Regions from separate parts of the Homo sapiens genome. Here region 2 is linked to region 1. The links are contacts of gene promoters, found by promoter capture Hi-C in human tissues and cell types (Jung and others, 2019). All regions are on one chromosome and are shown on one strand. The core of a region is centred on a gene start or on the middle of the fragment in contact, and the rest is flanking DNA. Distances in the headings are between cores, read along the strand shown.

Evidence for each region. Contacts are between HindIII fragments. The study calls those that stand out against the background at their distance.
Region 2: a contact is called between a fragment that was not itself captured here and the fragment with the promoter of GPR101 in region 1, in 1 of the 25 tissues and cell types used here (hippocampus).

The regions. Positions count from the first base shown.
Region 1 is chrX:137,030,287-137,037,538 of GRCh38, reverse strand. GPR101 (G protein-coupled receptor 101) reads left to right here and starts at 3,544. Exons shown (of 2, transcript NM_054021.2): 1 at 3,544-3,737; 2 at 5,773-7,252. The coding sequence starts at 5,865. RefSeq lists enhancers at 5,444-5,987, 5,988-6,532. The HindIII fragment of the contact is 13,638 bases long and covers 1-7,252 here.
Region 2 is chrX:136,971,203-136,978,454 of GRCh38, reverse strand. It overlaps the pseudogene TM9SF5P. Among named protein-coding and RNA genes, the nearest start is that of GPR101, 59 kb to the left of the region's middle. The HindIII fragment of the contact is 3,984 bases long and covers 2,723-6,706 here.

The sequences.
Region 1 (7,252 bases), core at 2,295-4,794:
TCTCTTCCAAATTAGTTTATTTGGATAGACATAGCTTTGAAATCCAGAACTTCTGTACTGCCCAAACCCACAGAATGTGCAATATTAGCTCACACCCAGGTGGTACTTGATTTTGTTTCAGTTTTGCAAACACAGCTTCTAGGAGTTGGCCTGAAGTGAATTCCAGAGTAACACATAACACTGAAAAATGTAAAACACCCCCATGGGTAGGCACTCCAGAACAAAACCATATATTTTTCCCCATCGACTTATTATGAACTCGCTAAGCAAAAAGGAGTGTGACTTAGAACTTAGATTGACTGATTTAGTCTTTTTACCACCTATGGGAACCATGTGTCTGTCCTACAAAAAGAAACCATTACCACTGCAAATGCACTTGTCTTTTCACAATTCTAGCAACTCCTAGTCCCCTTTCACCTAGATTCAAAAATTTTATCTGAGCTGGGTCTGGGAGCCCTTCTGTCTTGTCTCTGCACTCTTCCTTGATGTAGCCTAGGAAATGCCCCTGCTTTGGAGTTAGAGTAGGCTTTAACTCTCAGCTCCAAAACTTATTTGCTGTGTGACCTTGGATAAGTTACTTAACCCCTCTGTAAAGACAGGGATGATACTGTCTTACATTGATTCTAAAGCACATTTTTTTTCACATTCTAGCATCTTTGAAATCAAGATGTATCTTGTTAGCCATGGTATGATGGTTAAATGTTCAGCATTTTTCCATTTCCTAGTGGTATGTACTGTGTCATGCTTTCAGAAAATACGGTATTGTTTCCTAACTTGCAGAGCTTCCTCAAGGATTTAATACAAGACAGCAAGCATAAAGTAGGCACTCAAGGACTCTTGCACCGTTTATTACTAGAATGAATGACTAGAACTAATACTTGGCTGAGTCTTGGGTTTCCCAACTTCCCTCATCTAGCTATTGGTACAGCAATTGGGGCAATTAGTCTGACAAGGTGAACAAGCCTGAGGCCGGCACACTACTGACCAGTGTTGCAACGTGTGATTGTCAATGGGACCTTGGGCCCTTTCTTGTTGGTAGCTTCTTGCCCTCTAGTCCTGGTCCATTAATATCATCAGCTTGATCGTGCCTCTGCTGCTACTGAATTATGAAGGTAGGGAAAAGGACTAGGTGACTTCTTAAGCCATCATCCCAAAGTCTCCCTGTTTCATCCCAAAGACTCTCCCCAGAATGTAATGAGGCTTGTCAGTTGAAGGGCTCCTTCAAGGCTATCAGAATCAGAGCCTGCAGGGCTGGAAGCCAAATCCACATTCCCCAAAGCTCCACCACATACTTCCAGTTGGGGAACTGATATTTGGATGTCTTTGAAATCCAAGAATACCTACTCTGCTCACATCTGGAGGGAAAGAGAAGACACCGGAGGATTAACCACCCTCAAACATCTCCCTATACAGAAAAATAGCTGGTATTTATTTCCTAGCACTTCTCTGGCTTTTTTCCTATCTCCGGCTGGCAGGCTTGTCTCAGTTGCAGAGGCCTCATCCCACCCAACCCCTTCCACTCCCTATTATCCCCCTTCGTGCCCAAAAGTGCAGCTGCAGACTCCATGAGCCCATCCCTCTGAGGCACCAATCTTTAACATGTGTCTAGAGGGTCCCCTGCTGGAACCTAGCAGTCTCGGGCATGGTCACAACCACAATAAAAATAGGAAAGGTCAAGAAAGACTGGCCTTTGTCTCTGGCCACTTCTAGCAGCTTCACTGCCTCCCAAGTGATTGTAAAATCATTGAGTCTGAACAAACTACCGCTTGACAGTGCATGCCACCCAGGATTCTGTACCATGGCCAGCACGAAGCTAGGAATTAATAATAACTGTGAGTGATTATCACGGAAACTGTCTCTAGGAAAAATGACCAGGTTTTTACCATTCAACCTTGGGGAGATAAAATCAGGCATAGCAGAAAAAGGACAAATGATCTAAGAGCAAATGCAGGACTCCAGATCCAAAGAGCATTCTTGAGGCCCGATTATACACCTGTCTCATCTCCCTGTCTCAGAGGCAGGTGACGAGAAGGGGAGGAGGTATCTCCATCCAGCCCATCAACCAACTCCAAACCCTGTGCTCATTCTAGACCCTCCCCAACACCTCCTTGCCCTTATTCCCTGTCAATTTGCCTCTCTGTAGGTCTCTGCTTGCCCCGCTCTGTTGGACCTGTCAAGACCCTCTTTGTCTCCTGCCACAGCCTCCCTTCAGCTTTCTCCATCCAACACCAGCCCTGATTTTAGAATATCGCCCTACCTAAAACCCACCAATGAACAAGAATGGCAAATTATTTACCCTTGTGAAGGCTGGGTAATAGGAACATGGAGGATTATTTTATTATTCTCATTACGTTTGTGTATGCTTGAAGTCTTTCATAATAAAACGACTCTCCGACGACCTCCAGGGATCTCAGGGTAAAGTCCGAAGTCTGCAGACTGGCATTCAAGACCCCTCAGGATTTGTCTCTACCCAGTTTAACCAGCTAACCTCCTGGCACTCACCATGCTGCAGCCTGTTTTCCCAGCCTTTGGAACTCAAGTCTCTCTTGCAGCCCTAGTTTTACCCCATGCATCTTCTTTTTACAGAACACATTTCCCCTTGTGCCCTGCCTAGAAAACACCTCCTAATCCCTTGGAAATCTAATGCAAATGATCCCTGGTCTGGGTCACCTTCCCTACCTTCTGGGGGCAGGGAAGAGGGGGCCTCCTCAGTCCTGATATACAACAAATACCCAGTATGTGTTTAGGAGAGACCAGAATGTCTTGGCTAATAGAACGTGTGCAATATTTACTTGAACTTAGGCAAGTAGGGTAATCTTTCTTGGCTTCTGCTTCTGTCTCTATAAAATGAAGATAATAGCGGTACTTATCTCACAAGGCTGGGGTAAAGATTCAGCGGTATTCTCTGTGTAAACAGTTTAACACAGTACCTGGCAGAGAGAGGGGGAGAAAGAGGGAGAGAGGGAGAGATGCTGACTGACTTACAGACAGACATACTTCAATCAAAGAATATAGTGGGTAATTATGTGGCTTGTCTTAAATGAAATGCTTCCAAATCCCACAGGGAAAGCACTGCCGCTTAGCTCTTCCTGGGAGCTAGAGAAATTCGTGGAAAATCGTTGACATTAAAGTCACGATTCCTTTCTCGGGCTCAGGGGCTATTCATACTTTGGAGGGTTTTCAGAAGTCGAGGGGAGTCCCGGGCCCTCCTATTTGGAAGAATCGGAAGGATAGTGCAGGGTCTGTGCCTGGGAGCTGGCCCGAAATCAGGGGGCTAGGAAGGCACGGGGTTTGCACGAAAATCAGCCCCGGTGACAATCCCCAGTCTGTGAGCTCTCGGTGGACTCGGGGCCCCAGGGGTGGGAACCCGGAGTGAGAAAATCTGAGTGGGGTCTGGTGCACGGCCCCCCACCTGCCAGCCCCGCTCCCTGGGCTGCGGCGGCCTCGTGCGTCACGGGCGCAGGCGGGGGCCGAGGGGAGGGCGGCACCGCAAGGTGAGGGCACCGCGCTGCCTTAAGACGCCGCGCGCCCCCGCTGCCTCTCAGAGCTTGCAGCGCGGCGCGCTGGCCGGACGTGCGGGCACAGACGCTGTGCCCCGCTCCTGCCGCGCCCGCAGCGCCCGCTGCCCCGTGCCAGCTCGCAGCCGCCCGAGCCCCGAGAGGCGGCCGGGACGAGCGCGAGGAGCCCCGAAGGACCTGCACGCGGCGCCCGCGACGCCACGTCTGCAGCAGCAACAGGTAAGCAGCCCGGCCCTACTCCGGGCTCCGTGGCCCCCAGCACCCGGCAGGGCCCCGAGCCTGGGAGCCCACGACGCCCCCTCTGAAGCGTCCCGACGGCTGCTGAGCTACCAGGCGCGGTGGCCCGCGGTGCGGCCCCTTCTCGCCTTTCCCTAGCCATCCTCCCGCCCTCGCGTTTTCTCTCTCACTTTTTCTCGTGCGTTCTTTTCCCCCTTCCTCTCCATTCTCTCGTTTTTTCCTCATCCTTTCCCTCTTCCTCTGCTTGTTCTCTTTTCTTATTATTTTTTGCTTTTTCTGTCTGCGTCTCTCCCAGTCTGTCTTGCTCTCTCATTCTCTCTCACTCTCACGCTCCCATTTCTTCTTTTTTCTTTCTTTCTCCCTCTCTGTTGCTCACATTCTCTCTGTCTCTCTGTATGTATCTCATTCTTTCGCTGTCTCTCATTTCCTTTTTGTCTCTCTGCCTCTCAGTCTCTCTCGCCCTGCCTTTCTGACTCTCTCCACCACCCTGCACCCCTGCCTCTTTTGCCTTTCTCCCCAGCTCCTTTCCCACTCCCCTCGGCTGTCACCGACACCAAGCAGATCCGGAGAAAGCAAAGAGGATGCCAAATTGGGAATGGGGATGGGGCTGTGGAGGGTGAGGGTAGGGGAGCTCAATAGGCATCCTCTCTGCATTTTCCAGTCTCCATTGCACTGCTGATAAACTAAGGGTTTTTTAACCAAAGCCCGCGGTGGCCGGGGCGGCAGGTGGTTTCCACGGCAAAATAAAGTCCACAGGGAGACAGAGATCCAAAGAGACAGAGATCCAGCCAGAGAAAAACCAAGGTGAGGGGCCATGGGAAAAAGATGTAGAGAAATAGAGATGCGCACACACTCAAAGATACAAAGCAAGTGTTTAGCCAGAGTCCTGGGGTGACAGGAAAGTGAAGGACAGAGAAACCAACGAGAGAGTGCACACACTAAAGAGATAGCTTGAGAGACAGGTGAGACAAGCAGTAGAGTGTTAGAGATCAATGGAGAGAGAGGCAGAGTAATGCAGAGAGAACTTAGGCAGGGAGAGACAGAAACCACACGGAGAGACACAGAGACAAGAGGGTCCGAGAAAGACAGAGCAAGCGCACACGTGCCAGTGAGAGACAGAAGGAGACACCCAGAGAACCCGAGGGAGACGCAGAAACAAGAGAGTTGGAGAGACACGGAGACGGGCAGAGACACAGCGAACGACATTGAACAGGTGCGCTAGGGACCCACAAAGATGAACTGCTGGGGAAATAGACTGAGAGAGAAATGGAGAGACAAGAGAGCACTAGGGAAAGACGGAGACACACATGAACTAGCGAGCGACACAGTGACAGGCAGAGACACAGAGAGACAGAATGGATCAGAAAGAGACTGAGGGAGAGACGGGCAAGACTGTGAGAAAGATAGGGAGCGAGAGCGCAAGCCCTGCAGAGAAAGTGCGCTAGCGAAAGAGACACACACAGAGAGACTGAGTGACAAACAGAGTGGAAGAGATAAATGAGAGTAACAGGAAAGAGACAGCGTGCACGTGCTATCGAGAGACGGAGAAACAGAGACAGACATAAGTGAGAGACAAGGATGAGAAAGAATCAGGAAACGGTGAGACACATACAGACACACAACCCGAGAGATAAAGAAAAAAAGTGCGCTAGCGAGAGACACTGGAGAAGAGACAGAAACTGACGGTCGTAAACAGACAGAAACAGAGAGCGCACGCGCATGCGCTAGCGCTAGCGACCAAAACTCCCCGGAGCCAGAGACAGTGTGAGAGACAAGCAGAGAAAGCGCACGCACGCACGCGCCAGCAGGAGAAACAGATGAGAGGAAATCAGAGCCCTGGAGAGAGACAGGCAGACAGATCTGGAGAGTCCGGAAAGGAGCCATAGAAGCTGCCCGCACTGGGGATGGAGCCGTGCGGAAACCCGGGGTAGGGGGTCCTGCAGCGTCCTTGCTGGGCGCGGAGGCTTCTCCCCTTGACGGGTGACTAACTCTGCCTGCGTGTTTCTTTTGTCACCAGCATAGGCACTGAGTGCGGTCTGTGCACCCCTTTGCCACCCACCGGTGCCGGCACTGAGCCTGCAACCTGTCTCACGCCCTCTGGCTGTTGCCATGACGTCCACCTGCACCAACAGCACGCGCGAGAGTAACAGCAGCCACACGTGCATGCCCCTCTCCAAAATGCCCATCAGCCTGGCCCACGGCATCATCCGCTCAACCGTGCTGGTTATCTTCCTCGCCGCCTCTTTCGTCGGCAACATAGTGCTGGCGCTAGTGTTGCAGCGCAAGCCGCAGCTGCTGCAGGTGACCAACCGTTTTATCTTTAACCTCCTCGTCACCGACCTGCTGCAGATTTCGCTCGTGGCCCCCTGGGTGGTGGCCACCTCTGTGCCTCTCTTCTGGCCCCTCAACAGCCACTTCTGCACGGCCCTGGTTAGCCTCACCCACCTGTTCGCCTTCGCCAGCGTCAACACCATTGTCGTGGTGTCAGTGGATCGCTACTTGTCCATCATCCACCCTCTCTCCTACCCGTCCAAGATGACCCAGCGCCGCGGTTACCTGCTCCTCTATGGCACCTGGATTGTGGCCATCCTGCAGAGCACTCCTCCACTCTACGGCTGGGGCCAGGCTGCCTTTGATGAGCGCAATGCTCTCTGCTCCATGATCTGGGGGGCCAGCCCCAGCTACACTATTCTCAGCGTGGTGTCCTTCATCGTCATTCCACTGATTGTCATGATTGCCTGCTACTCCGTGGTGTTCTGTGCAGCCCGGAGGCAGCATGCTCTGCTGTACAATGTCAAGAGACACAGCTTGGAAGTGCGAGTCAAGGACTGTGTGGAGAATGAGGATGAAGAGGGAGCAGAGAAGAAGGAGGAGTTCCAGGATGAGAGTGAGTTTCGCCGCCAGCATGAAGGTGAGGTCAAGGCCAAGGAGGGCAGAATGGAAGCCAAGGACGGCAGCCTGAAGGCCAAGGAAGGAAGCACGGGGACCAGTGAGAGTAGTGTAGAGGCCAGGGGCAGCGAGGAGGTCAGAGAGAGCAGCACGGTGGCCAGCGACGGCAGCATGGAGGGTAAGGAAGGCAGCACCAAAGTTGAGGAGAACAGCATGAAGGCAGACAAGGGTCGCACAGAGGTCAACCAGTGCAGCATTGACTTGGGTGAAGATGACATGGAGTTTGGTGAAGACGACATCAATTTCAGTGAGGATGACGTCGAGGCAGTGAACATCCCGGAGAGCCTCCCACCCAGTCGTCGTAACAGCAACAGCAACCCTCCTCTGCCCAGGTGCTACCAGTGCAAAGCTGCTAAAGTGATCTTCATCATCATTTTCTCCTATGTGCTATCCCTGGGGCCCTACTGCTTTTTAGCAGTCCTGGCCGTGTGGGTGGATGTCGAAACCCAGGTACCCCAGTGGGTGATCACCATAATCATCTGGCTTTTCTTCCTGCAGTGCTGCATCCACCCCTATGTCTATGGCTACATGCACAAGACCATTAAGAA
Region 2 (7,252 bases), core at 3,465-5,964, 60 kb after region 1:
ATAAAACCACACATCTACAACTATCTGATCTTTGACAAACCTGACAAAAATAAGAAATGGGGAAAAGATTCCCTATTTAATAAATGGTGCTGGGAAAACTGGCTAGCCATATGTAGAAAGCTGAAACTGGATCCCTTCCTTACACCTTATACAAAAATTAATTCAAGATGGATTAAACACTTAAATGTTAGACCTAAAACCATAAAAACCCTAGAAGAAAACCTAGGCAATACCATTCAGGACATAGGCATGGGCAAGGACTTCATGTCTAAAACACCAAAAGCAATGGCAACAAAAGCCAAAATTGACAAATGGGATCTAATTCAACTAAAGAGCTTCTGCACAGCAAAAGAAACTACCATCAGTGTGACAGGCAACCTACAGAATGGGAGAAAATTTTTGCAATCTATTCGTCTGACAGAGGGCTAATAGCCAGAATCTACAAAGAATTCAAACAAATTTCAAAAAAAAAAAAAAAAAAAAAAACAACCCCATCAACAAGTGGGCGAAGGATATGAACAGACACTTCTCAAAAGAAGACATTTATGCAGCCAACAGACACATGAAAAAATGCTCATCACCACTGGCCATCAGAGAAATGCAAATCAAAACCACAATGAGATACCATCTCACACCAGTTAGAATGGCAATCATTAAAAAGTCAGGAAACAACAGGTGCTGGAGAGGATGTGGAGAAATAGGAACACTTTTACACTGTTGGTGGGACTATAAACTAGTTCAACCATTGTGGAAGACAGTGTGGCGATTCCTCAGGGATCTAGAAATACCATTTGACCCAGCCATCCCATTACTGGGTATATACCCAAAGGATTATATATCATGCTGCTATAAAAACACATGCACACGTATGTTTATTGCAGCACTATTCACAATAGCAAAAACCTGGAACCAACCCAAATGTCCAACAGTGATAGGCTAGATTAAGAAAATGTGGCACATATACACCATGGAATACTATGCAGCCATAAAAAATGATGAGTTCATGTCCTTTGCAGGGACATGGATGAAGCTGGAAACCATAATTCTCAGCAAACTATCGCAAGGACAAAAAACCAAACACCGCATGTTCTCACTCATAGGTGGGAATTGAACAATGAGAACACTTGGACACAGGGTGGGGAACATCACACACCAGGGCCTGTTGTGGGGTGGGGGGAGGGGGGAGGGATAGCATTAGGAGATATACCTAATGTAAATGACGAGTTAATGGGTGCAGCACACCAACATGGCACATGTATACATATGTAACAAATCTGCACGTTGTGCACATGTACCCTAGAACTTAAATAATTAAAAAAAAAAAACTCCGACATCAAGCAGTTTAGCTCTTCCCAACACAGCTCAGCTGTTGAAATTTCATGGAAGAAATTGTTTTTATCGGTCTAAATTTTGTGTCACTTATATAGAAAAAATGGTAATAAAATTGCATCATATATTTAAAAAAAAAAGGACAAGAAACACCAAAAGGATAAGCACAAGCAGCACAAAAAACACAAGGAAAAGGCTGTGGCTGCAGCCACTGCGACCCCTGCAGCCACTGCAGCTGCCACAACCACATTATCACAGGAAGAACCAGTGGCAGCGCCAGAGCCGAAGGAGGATACTGAAAGTGAAGCTGAAGATAACCTTCATGACTTAGAAAAGCACCTGCGTTGGCCAGGCACGGTGGCTCATGCCTGTAATCCCAGTACTTTGGGAGGCCGAGGCGGGTGGATCACGAGGTCAGGAGATCGACACCATCCTGGCTAACACAGTGAAGCCCCATCTCTACTAAAAATACAAAAAAATTAGCCAGGCGTGGTGGCGGGCACCTGTAGTCCCAGCTACTTGGGAGGCTGAGGCAGGAGAATGGTGTGAATCCAGGAGGCGGAGGTTGCAGTAAGCTGAGATCGCGCCACTGCCCTCCAGCCTGGGCAAGAGTGAGACTCCGTCTCCGAAAAATAAAAATAAAAAAGAAAAGCACCTGTGTGAAAAGGTCCTGAGATCAATGAGGAAGGCCCAAGTGTCCCCACAGTCAGGCGGAAATGTTTGTTGTGATGTAAATTTTATTTGGTTTGTAGGCAGTTCAATTTCAAAATTGCTAAAATGTGTTTGAGCTTTAGACTCTAACATTTGTTGTAATAATTGCTAGGTTGAAGTTCACCATGTAAAAACAAGGGGCATGGATTTACATTGCAAAAGTTGTCCACACTGTATTAGCAACATTCTTTCATTGACAGTTGACATAATTCATTCAGAGTGAAATATTTTAAGCCAAAAAAAATCCCCTTTTTAAAAAGGGAGGTTTAAATACTATTAGCATTTTTATGGTTCCTTTAAATGCCCTGGCTATTCCCAGAGGGTTTTTTTTTTGTTTGGTTTGGTTTTGGTTTTCTGTTTTTCTTTTTCTTTACATTTTTTTCATTTGAGTCTTAGCACCCGTTTAAGTTATGCTTCTGACCTTGTATGGTCTGTAAGCTTGCCCAGAAATAAGACCACCATTTTGAACTACCATAAAAGTATAAATGAGTATTTCAATGCCATAATCTTTCCTGTTGCCTGTGGAGTCTCTGCTGAGATGAATCAGGATTCGAGCTCTAGGATGAGACAGAAAATGAAAGCATGCTGTTTGCCAGGACACTGTGGATTTATATTGATGTGTATCTAGTTGATTTGGAACACTGGACTCTCATTTTATTCTTCTGGTTTTCTGTTTTTGTTTTATCTTTTGTAAAGGCAATGAGCTAGTCCCAGGAAGGATCCTTCAGTTACATACAATTTTGTTTAATGAAATGTCATGGCTCTGTTCATATTTTTCTCTTGTTCTTCCAATCGGTATATACAACTTTCAGAGCTCTTGTATTTGGAAGGCTGGAAGGGTCCAGACTTTGGAATAGTGTCTTGGTTTCACTGTTTTTGTTTTGATGTTTTTTCGTTTTTTTTTTTTAAACTAAAGCTATATAAAGCTTGTGGATTAAACAGAATAAATTTCTAAATTTTTTAAAAAACTAAAATAACACTTCACACCCACTAGGTGGCTATAATAAAAAAAAGAAAGAAATAAAAGAAAGGATAGTAACAAGTGTTGGTGAGGGTACGAAGAAACTGGAACCCTAATACATTACTGATAGGGATGTAAATGGTGCAGCCAGGTTTGAAAACAGGCTGACAGTTTCTCAAAATAATAAACATAAAGCTACCATATGACCCAGTGATTTCACTCATAGGTATACATACAGTAGAACTGAAAGCATATATTCACTCAAAACATTGTACAAAAATGTTTATAGGCTGGGCGCGGTGGCTCACTCCTGTAACACCAGCACTTTGAGAGGACAAGGTGGGCAGATCACAAGGTCAGGAGTTTGAGACCAGCCTGGCCAACACAGTGAACCCTGTCTCTACTAAAAATACAAAAATTAGCCAGACATGATGGCATGTGCCTATAGTCCCAGCTATTCAGGAGGCTGAGGCAGGAGAATCACTTGAACCCAGGAGGCAGAGGTTGCACCACAGCACTCCAGCCTAGGCAACAGAGCGAGATTCCGTCTCAAAAAAAAAAATGTTTATAGCAGTATAATTCAAAATATCCAAAAGGTAAAAATAGCCCAGATGTCCATCAAACAAAAGGTGGTACATCCAAACAAAGGAATATTATTCAATCATAAAAAGGAATGAAGTACTGATACATGCTACAATATGAATGAACTTTGAAAACATTACCTAAGTGAAAGAAGTCAGACACAAAATATCACATGCTTCATGATTCATTTATATTAAGTGCCCAGAATAGGCAAGTCCATAGAGATAGAAAATAGATTAGTAAATTCACAGCCAAGGGGATGGGAAAACGGGGAGTGTCTGCTAATAAGAACAGGGTTTCTTTTTTTATTTTTATTTAAAGTTCCAGGGTATATGTGCAGGTTTGTTACATAAGTAAACATGTGCCATGGTGGTTTGATGCACCTATCAGCCCATCACCTAGGTATTAAACCCAGCATGCATTAGCTATTTTTCCTAATGCTCTCCCTCCCCCAACCCCATCCCCCAACAGGCCCAAGTGTGTGTTGTTCCTTTTCCTGTGTCCATGTGTTCTCATGAACAGGGTTTCTTTTGAGGGTCATGAAATGTTCTGGAATTAGGATACTGGTGACAGTTTCATAACTTTGTGACTATACTGAAAACCAGTGAATTGTAGGCTTTTCAAGGGTGAATTTTATGGTATGTGAATGATATATAAATGTTTTAGAAGAATAAAGAGTAAGGGTAAAACTAAGAATGAATACGGTTTTTAGCCTACGTGACCAAAACAGTGGTGATAATATAAACAAAAACAAGAACTTCATGTGAGAGAACTTGTTTGACAAATAGAAATAAATAAATTCAGTTATAAAGACATAGTACTTGAAACTGATTATGAAAATGGATGCCATCACTCAAGGAGAGAGAATGCAGAAATCAAGAAAAAGAGGAAGAGGAGAGAGGAAGAAGGTGGAGGAAGAGAAGGAGAAAGAGAGGGAGAGGAAGGAAAGAAGAACCCACAGGTGAGGATATAACTAGGAAGAAGGTTCACATTTGATAGGAGGATGACAGAAGGGAGTTAAGAGAAGGAAAAAAGAGGTGAAAGAACTAGAAGCCTACAATGACAAGAATAGTGAAAGAGAAGAACTTTTCATAAAGATAAGTGTAGCTGGCCAGGCACGGTGGCTCACGCCTATAATCCCAGCACTTTGGGAAGCCGAGGCAGGCAGATCACCTGAGGTCAGGAGTTCAAGACCAGCCTGATCAACATGGTGAAACCTCATCTCTACTAAAAATACAAAATTAGCCGGGCGTGGTGGCGCATGCCTGTAATCCCAGCTACTCGGGAGACTGAGGCAGGAGAATCTCTTGAACCTGAGAGGCGGAGATTGCAGTGAACCAAAATCCCACCATTGCACTCCAGCCTGGGCAACAAGAGCAAAACTCCATCTCAAAAGAAAAAAAAATGAGTGTAACTAATAGTCTGTCAAGTGTTACAGACTGATCAAGGAGACTAGGAATGAATGCAATGAATTTGACAAGAAGAAAGGTCATCTGTCAACTTTCAGGAATGCTTTTCAAAAGAGAGATCCAAACTGCCAGTATTAAGAGGAATGGGTCATAAAAATAAAGAGAGATGATTAGAAAGGAAGAGATATGGGACAGGAACATGAAAGGATGTAGAAGGACAATAGCAAATAAACTGAAGTGCACAAAACCTGACACAAAAAGACACTTGTCCACGCATAATCTATAATTAATGTAAAATACAAACAACCTAAATTTTCTAACAATGCATAAAAAATAAATGATTGCACAAATATAGAAGCATTGTCTGGTATCATGATTAAGAGAATAGACACTCAAGCCAGACTGCTTAAATTTGAATTCTTATTTATTTATTTGAGACAAGGTCTCACTCTTACGCACAGGCTGGAGTGCAGTGGCGCAGTCTCAGCTCACTGCAACCTCCCCATCCTGTGCTCAAGCGACTGTCTTGCCTCAGCCTCTCAAGTAGCTGAGACTATAGGCGCATGCCACCACACTCGGCTAATTTTTTTGTATTTTTTGTAAAAACAGGGTTTTGCCACGTTGCCCAGGCTGGTTTGAAACTTCTGGGCTCAATCCCTGATCCACCCACCTCGGCCTACCAAACTGCTGGGATTACAGGTGTGAGCCACCACGCCCAGCCGAATCTGAATTCTGACTCTACCACTTACTAGCTGAATGACCATGGGCAAGTTACTATACTACTCTGTGCCTTATTTCCTCATCTGCAAAATGGGATAACAACAATAATATCTACCTCATAGTGTTGATGGGAAGATTAAATATGTTAGTATTTGCATAGCATTTGGAACAATATCTGACATATAGTTAAGTACTATATAAGGGTGAATTATTATCATCAATACAAGAGAATACCTGTGGTTGTTAAAAATGGCATCAGAGAATTTCCAATGATTACCTAAAATATTGAGACTTAACATTTAACGACACATTAAGTGAATAAAGCTGGAAAAAAATGTATACATTATGTGGCATCATAATTTACACGCACAGAAAAAAAGACTGGAAACATAACAGAAGGTCAACACCAGTTCAGTCAAAAAGATGGGACTGTAGGGGATTATTATTTTAATCTTTATGCTCTTTCTGCATCTCTAAATGTTCTATCACAACAATTTATTATTATAGGTGGAAAAAATAAACATGAAAATAGAGAATTCTAGGCTAACATGGCTGACTGAATACACATATCTTTAATCTTTCTTCTGAAACCACAGGAAAATTATAAAAAGTGTTTTTTTAAACAATCTTCAGACAGGGAGAACAGGAGAGCAGATAGCAGGAAACAATAAAAGGAAGCCAGAAACTATTGCAGGCAGTGGAGAAAGCTGAGAGCCAACCCAATTTATACTACAGAATCCACAAAAAGCTCAGAAACTGGCAGCAACAGGTAATCTGTGAGTTAAGTGTGGTGGGGTGACTAATGGAAGAGAATTTTGTGAAAGCTTTTTGAGAAGTAGATATATCCATCATCTCCCTCACTCTAACTATAGCATATATCTGGAGGTTTATTCTCCAGGTTGGAGAACATCAGACATGATTAAGGGCTTGGGTATATATGCAGCTACATGGCACATGTCAAGACACTTGGCTCCTTTCCCCTAGACACCTCCCAGAATGCTGACAGCCAGACATTAACCCTTCAGCCAGGAGATCAGAATTTCCAGGTTTTCTCTGGGAAAAGTTACTATCTCAAGGCTTAAACCCTAAAGATATTGACAGAAGAGGGTCCACTAAAAACAGTACACCTAGATCAGCAAACAGTGAAGCGCCAATTCTATAAGCTTCCCTACACACTCATAACATTCATTTAGTATTTTCATTTAGTATTTTATTCTCACACTTTTCATCATATGCGTACATATAACCAGCCATTGCCAGACCTTTGAGGAAATCCTGTAGCATGAAAGATAGAAATGAAAACAAAAAGGGAAAGTCAGTCTGAAGAAAATGATACTATTCATTGAGAAAAAATACTTATCATTAGTAACCCAAGAGAGGTATAATATGATACTACACTCATGGAACACTGACAAGATGCTTTTTTAAAGGAACATTAAGAAAACAAGGCCAGGCGCAGTGGCTCATGCCTGTAATCCCAGCACTTTGGGAGGCCGAGGTGGGCAGATCACTGGAGGCCAAGAGTTCGAGATCAGCCTGG